2 separate regions of the Homo sapiens genome follow, and region 1 is linked to region 2. Evidence: promoter capture Hi-C in human tissues and cell types (Jung and others, 2019). All regions are on one chromosome and are shown on one strand. Each heading gives the region's core, a stretch centred on a gene start or on the middle of the fragment in contact. The rest is flanking DNA. Distances are from core to core; before and after follow the strand shown. Region 1 has its middle 60 kb from the start of TMEM200A. Region 2 holds the start of ARG1 (arginase 1).

What was found. The method cuts DNA at HindIII sites, captures the fragments that hold promoters and counts their contacts. A contact is called where the count stands out against the background at its distance.
Region 1: a fragment that was not itself captured here is called in contact with the fragment with the promoter of ARG1 in region 2 in 1 of the 25 tissues and cell types used here (dorsolateral prefrontal cortex).

The regions. Positions count from the first base shown.
Region 1 is chr6:130,303,467-130,307,691 of GRCh38, reverse strand. It overlaps a transcript of SAMD3 not described here. Among named protein-coding and RNA genes, the nearest start is that of TMEM200A, 60 kb to the left of the region's middle. The HindIII fragment of the contact is 3,594 bases long and covers 124-3,717 here.
Region 2 is chr6:131,571,740-131,575,342 of GRCh38, reverse strand. It overlaps ARG1 (arginase 1), which reads right to left and starts at 2,117. Exons shown (of 8, transcript NM_000045.4): 1 at 2,004-2,117. The coding sequence starts at 2,060. It also overlaps a transcript of MED23 not described here. RefSeq lists an enhancer at 2,150-2,651. The HindIII fragment of the contact is 11,485 bases long and covers 1-3,603 here.

The sequences.
Region 1 (4,225 bases), core at 671-3,170, 1.3 Mb after region 2:
AACCAATTGACCTAAATTAATTCTGTAGTAAAATTCTATAAAAATGAACTGAGGATCATAGTTATTTGATTTTCAAAATTCTCTATTTTCCCCATGGTTTGTGGAACAGTCCACCCCAATATTAAGCCCAATTTTCCTTTATTAAATTATAAACCTAAGTTTCTTAAATCAATATTCTAATTCCTCTCTTAAAGAATATTTGAATAATACCATTAATAGGTCTTTGAAGAACTCTTATTTTCACAGTTAATTACAAAGAAAAGAAGGAAAAGAAAGCTTAACTCCAAATCTATCTCTCCCAATGCTCACAAAAAGATTAGCTACGTAATTTTTCAGAGACCCATGCAAAATAAAAATGTGGGACCTCTTGTTCAAAAATTAAAAACTCCAAGACAGCAACAGCAGAGCATTACAGTGCAAGAGACGGCCCTGTGGACCTGCACAGATCTCATGCCCTTGTGAGCCTTGCTCACAACTGCATTCACCCCATGTATAATCTCTCACATTTAGGGAATGCTTCTTTTCACTCCATGTGTAAGTTTAGATATGTGTATAAAGTTTGATCTTTGTGAATTCACAAATATCACAGAATTCTTTAGATACATGAAAGTGTGTCCAGAAGCACAAAAAATACAGTAAAAATGTATTAAAATGATTCAAAAAGGCTAGGAAACAGAGAGAATGAGAGAATAAGTCAGAACAATAGCTAGATCATCCGCATCTTTTGTCACATTTTAGAAATAGAACCTCAGTAGTGAAGTAGTAGTTAAAACTTTAATCAGTAGCTTAAAATATCATTATAGAAAGAAAACACCAGGATGAGATGGTTTATCAGTTGGTTCTGGCAAATATTAATTAATAGTTTCATGTTCATGAACTCTTTCAAAGAATAGAAAAAGAAAGAACATTCTCTGTCTCATTCTATAAGGTTAGTATAAATCTTGATACTGTGATGTCTAATGTTTTCTCTCTACTCCATACTTGCCCTGTATACACTTATCTTTGGGGCTGGAAGTCTGCAAGCTATATTTCATAATCTCCTTGCCATCTGGCTTCCTGTTTGTTCCTGCTAATGTGAGGCACTGACAAGAGACTGGACAGTTAGTGGAATAGAAGCAATTTGTTTCTAATTTCTGTCGGTTCAACCAGCCATGGTAGATTTAGCTGTCATGGTGGCAGCCACCTGTGAGAGTAGATGCTTAGCAGAAGAGTAACTGCTTAGTCAACTTCCTTCCAGCTACAGCAGCCTCAGAATCGTAGCAAACATAGGCATCAGGTAATATCATTTTTCTTTTGCTTCTCTAACCCTCATTTACCTTCATTGGGTAATTAATCTTTCCTTTTTTGTTCCTCTAACTCTCCTAACAACTTTGTAATAAATTTAATTTCCTGTTTTAAATTTCACCTTCTTGCAAGTCTAAAATGATCCTATATTTTTCTGCTTAGACAGTGATTAATTTAGTGCTTAAATAATCCAAGAATAGTTGATAAAGTAAATATTTTTTAAGTAAAAATGTCCTGCTATGGTCTGAATGTTTGTACACTCCCTACCCAATTCATACGTTGAAACCTAATCCTTAGTGTGATAGTATTGGAAGGTGGAGCTTCTGGGAGGTAACTAGATCAGTGGGATTAGTGTCCTTATAAAAGAGACCCTAGAGAACTGCCTTTTCCTTCCACCATGTGAGGACACATTGTAAGGCATCATCTATGAACCAAAAGCTGGCTCTCACTGGACACTGAATCTGCTGCCATCTTGATCTTGGACTTCCAAGTATTCAGAAATAGGAGAAATAAATTTATTTTGTTTGTAAGTTATGCAGTTTATGGTGTTTTGTTATAGAAGCCCAAACAGACTAGGACAAGTCCTAAACAAAATATTAGCATTAGCAATATTAGCACATTAGCAATTTATTTTAAAAGATGAGATTGCCAAGTTGTATTTATTCCAAGATTTCAAGGTTGTTTGAATATCAGCAGATCAATCAACACATTGCATCCCAATAATATCTGAAAGGAGGAAAACCATATGACCTTCTTTACAGACTCAGGAAAGATATTTAACAAAATTTAATATCCATTCATGACTAAAATTCTTATCTAACTGGTAGAATTGAATGTTCATAACATGAAAAAGGGAATCTACAAAGGCCTTATTGCTATCATTTTTCTAAAAGAATATAAACATTCTCTTTAGAATCAGGAAAAATTATTATTCCTATCACAATTTCTGTTCAACATTGTTCTGGAGATTATAGACAGGGTAGTAAGATAAGGAAAAAATAAGTCAAAGAATTAAGTATTTAAAATTGAGAACAAATACTATAATTCTTTAGATGATACAGTTGAAAGTTTACACATAAAACCCACAGAATATATAGAAAAATATTAGGATATATAAGAGTTTAGCAGTGTTGCTAGAAATAAAACCAATGTAAATAAATCTACTTCATTTCTATATACCAGCAACAAATAGAAAATGTAATTTTACACTTTGGGAGGCTGAGGTGGGCGGATTGCCTGAGCTCAGGAGTTCAAGACCAGCCTGCGCAACATGGTGAAACCCCATCTCTACTAAAAATACAGAAAGTTAGCAGGGCATGCTGATGCACATGTGTGGTCCCAGCTACTTGAAAGGCTGAGGCATGACAATCACTTGAACACAGGAGACAGAGGCTACAGTGAGCCAAGATTGCACCACTGCACTCCAGCCTGGGCAGCAGAGTGAGACTCTGTCTCAAAAAAAAAAAAAAAAAAAAAAAAAAGGAAGAAAATGTAATTTTAGTGTTTATAGTAGCAACTAAGTAAAAACCATTAAAATATGTAAGCACTTTGTAGAAAAATTACAAAAGTTTATTGAAAGATATCTTAAAATACCTAAATAAGTAGAGTGATACGCCATCTTTTTAGAAAGACTCAATATAGTTTTTTAAATATCAATTATAATCTCGACTTAAAGTTTGGATAAAATTAAAATTTCGGCATAATTTTTTTTCATGGAACTTAGCAAGATGATTCTATGCACTGAATTCCAAGAGTCCGGAAAAGAGCCAAAACTCTCCTAAAGCAAAAGAGTAAGTGGAGAGATTTGTTTTAACTTCAGTAAAAAGTCATAAAGCTCTAGCAACTAAGATGAAAGTGTAATATTAGCATAGACATAGAGAATGTGTTCAGTGGAACTAAAGAGAGAAGCCCAACAACTAATCTATACATTTATGGAAACTTGATTTATGAACAAATTTGGCACTTCACCCAGCACTTTGGGAGGCCGAGGCGGGTGAATCACCTGATGTCAGGAGTTCGAGACCAGCCTGGCCAACATGGTGAAACCCTGTCTCTACTAAAAATACAAAAATTAGCTGGGTATGGTGGCATGTGTCTGTAGTCCCAGCTACTCAGGAGGCTGAGGCAGGAGAATCGCTTGAACCCAAGAGGCGGAGGTTGCAGTAAGCCGAGATCACATCACTGCACTTCAGCCTGGGTGGCACTTCAGATCAATGGGAAAATTAGGACTGTTCAACAATGTTGACAAAACCATTGTTTAACCGTGTAAGAAAAAAGCTGGATATGTACCTCATATAATACATAAAAATCAGTCCCAGGAAATTTAAAACTTACATTTGAAAGGGAAAACATTTAAACATATAGGAGAAAATGTAGATAAATGTTTATACACTCAAGTTAGAATTTATTAAAGAAAAAACAAAAATGACAAACTTAAAGGAAAATATTTATAAATTCGAAAACTTTAAAATTAAAACCTTATGTTAATCAAAACATAATAAAAACACGAAAAAAACTGGAAGATAGACTTGCAACACACATACAAAATAAAGAATTAAAATGTAGAATATATTCAGAATGGAGGTGACATTATTTTATATATTGTTTTAAAAGATTACCAGGCCAATAAAGTGCATATAGGTGCAATAGTGAAAACTGGGACAGGAGTTAAGAGGCAAGCTAGGTGAATGGTGATGGAATTTTGGACTGGGGTGGTAGAGCAGTGGAGAAAAAGGAAGCAGATGGATTCCAGATGTGTTTTTGCATGTGTGGCCAACATAACTCACTGATGAATGGTATGTGGATTTTAAAGAAAAGGAAAAAATTTGATTTTGACTCCAAACTTTTTGGCTTAATCAACTGGGTAAATGAGTTTCTATAAATAAATACATTTATTTCTATTCATGGAAAGGCCTGGGAGAGGAAAAGGTTCAGATTGAGG
Region 2 (3,603 bases), core at 868-3,367:
TCCTCATTGTTAGATTTCAGTCCAGCTTGCTTTACATGTGGGGCACTATATTTTGTAGTGTAGAGCTGACATATAGTAGATACTCAATACTCAGTTTGATAAAACTCCTTGGCTTTTTTACCCTTCTCCCTTTCATATTTTAGAACAAAGCTCATAGACCCCTTAGTTGACACTATATTTGCTATAACACAGCCATTAAATTTTCTAGAATTCTTTTTTATTTGTTTTATTCAAATGGCTTCTCATGATTGGGCTTTCCTCTTGCTTGCTCTATCTGCCCACTTTGGAAATTGCTTTGTCAGCTCCACCGACTTTCTAAGCTGGGCCCAATCCCTAAATGGCCACAAGTATAAGGTCGCCTTTGGAGTTGAATAGTCTGAAGAGACATCAGTGCAAATCAAGGGCATAGGCATTGGAATCAGATTATCTTGTCTGGAATTATGCAGTCAAGGCTGTGTGACGTTGAGCACATTACCAAACCTCTCTGGGCTTTTTTTTAACCCAACTGTAAGGTAAAAATAATACCTACCTTATTGTTTGTTCGCTGCCTTGCAAGCCTTTCAAGGAGGTGAGACAGGGATGAAGCCCTTTCTCAGACTCAACATTTTAGTCATCTGCCCTCTAATCCTTTCCTTTTGCTTATTTGTCAAACTTGTACCTCCTTTAGGTGAGGACAAATACTTATATGTTGGCCATTTTATCCTCTCTACTCTATGACTTAGTGTAAAAAATCTCTCTCTCTTAGTCCTTACAATCATGAGACAATGAACTCCATTCTCATGACCATGTTTTAATGGGAGGAGGGTGGTAGAAGGAGGACACTTGCTTCCCTTTTGTGAGGTTTTTAAATTATATATTTATTATAACCTGTTCAAGAGTGGGTGAGAACAGTGTGGATTTTAAAAGGAACATTTCTGTGTCAGCAAAATGTCCCTGTGTTTGGGAGAGACTTTTGGAGGATTTCCAGGGGAAGCAAAGTAGTATTTACTGACAGTCCAAATGCAGTTTGGGCCTCTAACCTCTGGCCTCTCTCAATTTGTTTTGCAGTAAAAAGTCAGAGTACACAGCAAGGGTTCCAAATTAAGAGGAAGCAAAACGCTGCCCAGATCCTGAGAAACCTGGAGAAAATCAACCTTAGTAGTTTCAACTCATACATTGTCTTGTTTGATTTTGTTCTTTGTTTTTTATCCTCTTTAAGCACAGATGCGTGTTGAAGTCTAAGGTGTTCTGTCATCACACTCTCTTTACTAGAATAAGTGTGCCCAGGCAGAAAAAAAAGTGTATTCAATGTTGCTGGCATGTGTGGATTCACAGCTCGTGGCTGTAAGGAAATCTGGGGGTTTCATAAATCCATTAAAATCCTTTTAGAGTTGCCAACCCGCAGTAGGATTTTCTTTCTTTTTTTGTTCTTTTTTTCCCCTTCCAAGTGAGGCACATAAAGGATTCTACCTAGTCCATGAATGAACAGTTTCATAGAAACATTAAAACCCTAACATAACATGAATTATTCACAAAGTTGCATGAAACAATAATATTTAGGTTATCCAAATTATAAGAAGCCTGAAGGTTACCACCAAACTATTAAATTTTTCTAGGCATTAATTACATAACTAAACAAATGTATTTCTTAAAATTCTCTCTTCCTCTACATACACACAGTAACATCAAAAACAACAAGAGCAACTAAACCTCAATGAGTAGCTACAATGCAGAAAGAGTCCATTTCAATTCAAAGAAAAATATTTTCTCCTAAAAAATATGAGAAAACATTCTGTAGGTTCAAATGAATTTAGCCTTGGCTGAGATCACGAGCCACAAAAGTAAGTGGATATGTGACTATAATTATACAATGTTGGAAAATGGTGAGAGGACTTTAAAATATGCATTTCCTGGCCAGATTGTATCAGAAAACTGAACTAACTAGACAATAACACCTTACAAATTTTGAAGTCCAAAATTTTCAACTAAATTCCAGGAATTCAAAGAAAGACTTTTTTCCTTACCTGTCCCTTTGAGAAAGGAGCTCCAATAATCCCTATGGTTCTGGACTTGGCGCTCATGCTCTGACACTTCTCTTTGCTGCACTTGAGCTCTCCAGTCAGTCAACCCTCAGTGACAGAGGGCGCATCTTTTTTTTCCATTTATACTTGGGTTGAATAAACAACCTTTATCTAATGAGGACAGCTGGCTCCACCCACTAAACCAAAGAATGACAGTCAACAGTCTTGCAATTTTTCATACATGGAGTAACTATATGGTTACTCCATGTATGAAGTAACTATATGGGGTTACTTCATACATGGAGTAACCTAACTCTGAGTCTAGGTCTCTAATCAAGTGACAATTATTCATGTTCTCACTTCACACCCTTTTAAAAAGCCAGCCAGATGACATTAACCTGACTTCAACAACTGACAAGTTTCACAACTACAGAAGAAGTCCTATTGTTCTGGCTCAGCGAACTCAGGGCAAGGCCCTTTCCTCCTCCAGATCTCTGAAGACGTCCTTGTAGAAGAAGGGCCGGGCTTGGCAAGATCGTCTGTCACATCCCTTCCAGCCCTAAAATCCTGAGTTGAGATTTCACACATGAGGGTAAATGGTTAATCCATGAGACACATTTCATAAACTTTTAGGGTATAATATAATAAAGAGTATATAACTTCCTTTTTTGATGATTACTTTAAAAAATTAGTTACTTGATTGGTAACCCAGAGAGGTTACCATTTTTGAAGTATGGTGTACAGGAAAATAATTGTAGAATCATATCATAATCAAAGTATAGAAATAAAAATAGCTAACATTGAGTTTTTACCATGTGTCCGATGCAGTTCTGTTTCAAAATACCATATTTATATTTATACCAATTTTATGTGAAGTCTCATCATTGGTGCCATTATACTGATGAATAAACTGAAGCTCAGACCCGTTGCCAACATAGGCTGTAGAAGAAAAGTCGGGATTTAGTCTCTGCCATTCTGAATCCACTTAACCGTCGAGCTTATAGTCTAAATGCTGGGAAGGTGTCAACCTCTATGCCCCTGAGCTACCATTTGTCACCATACAAAAGTATGAATTTAAAATAAAGGCACCTTAAAGATCCTTCCGACTTTAAAATTATGTAATTGTAATTTAAAGGGAAAATTCACTTAGTAGAAACTAATTTCTTTTTCCTATTGGTGGGAAAGAACATTTTGGAATTTAAATTCCATGAGGTCAGAGAATTTTGTCTGCTGTATCCCCAGGGCCTAGAAGAGTGTTGGTGTATAATAGGCACTCAATAAATATTTATTGAATGGATAAATGAGGAAACCAAAGTCTCATGGGTCCATTTTGATAGGACTGTTTTCCAAATAGGTTTCCTACCTTTTTCTTGTGGGTTTGCTTGTATATCCTAAATATTTACTTGTGGTATTCCTCATATTGCCTAGATATTAACCTTATAGCATTGACATTGCAAATAACTTTTCCCAACCTGTCAGAAATCTGATAACTTTTTATATGTTATCACTCAAAATCCTCAATTTTAAAATAGACACTTGTATAATTTCCCCCGAATGCTTTGTGCTTTGGAAGTCTTATTAAATTCCTGCCACCCCATCAAAT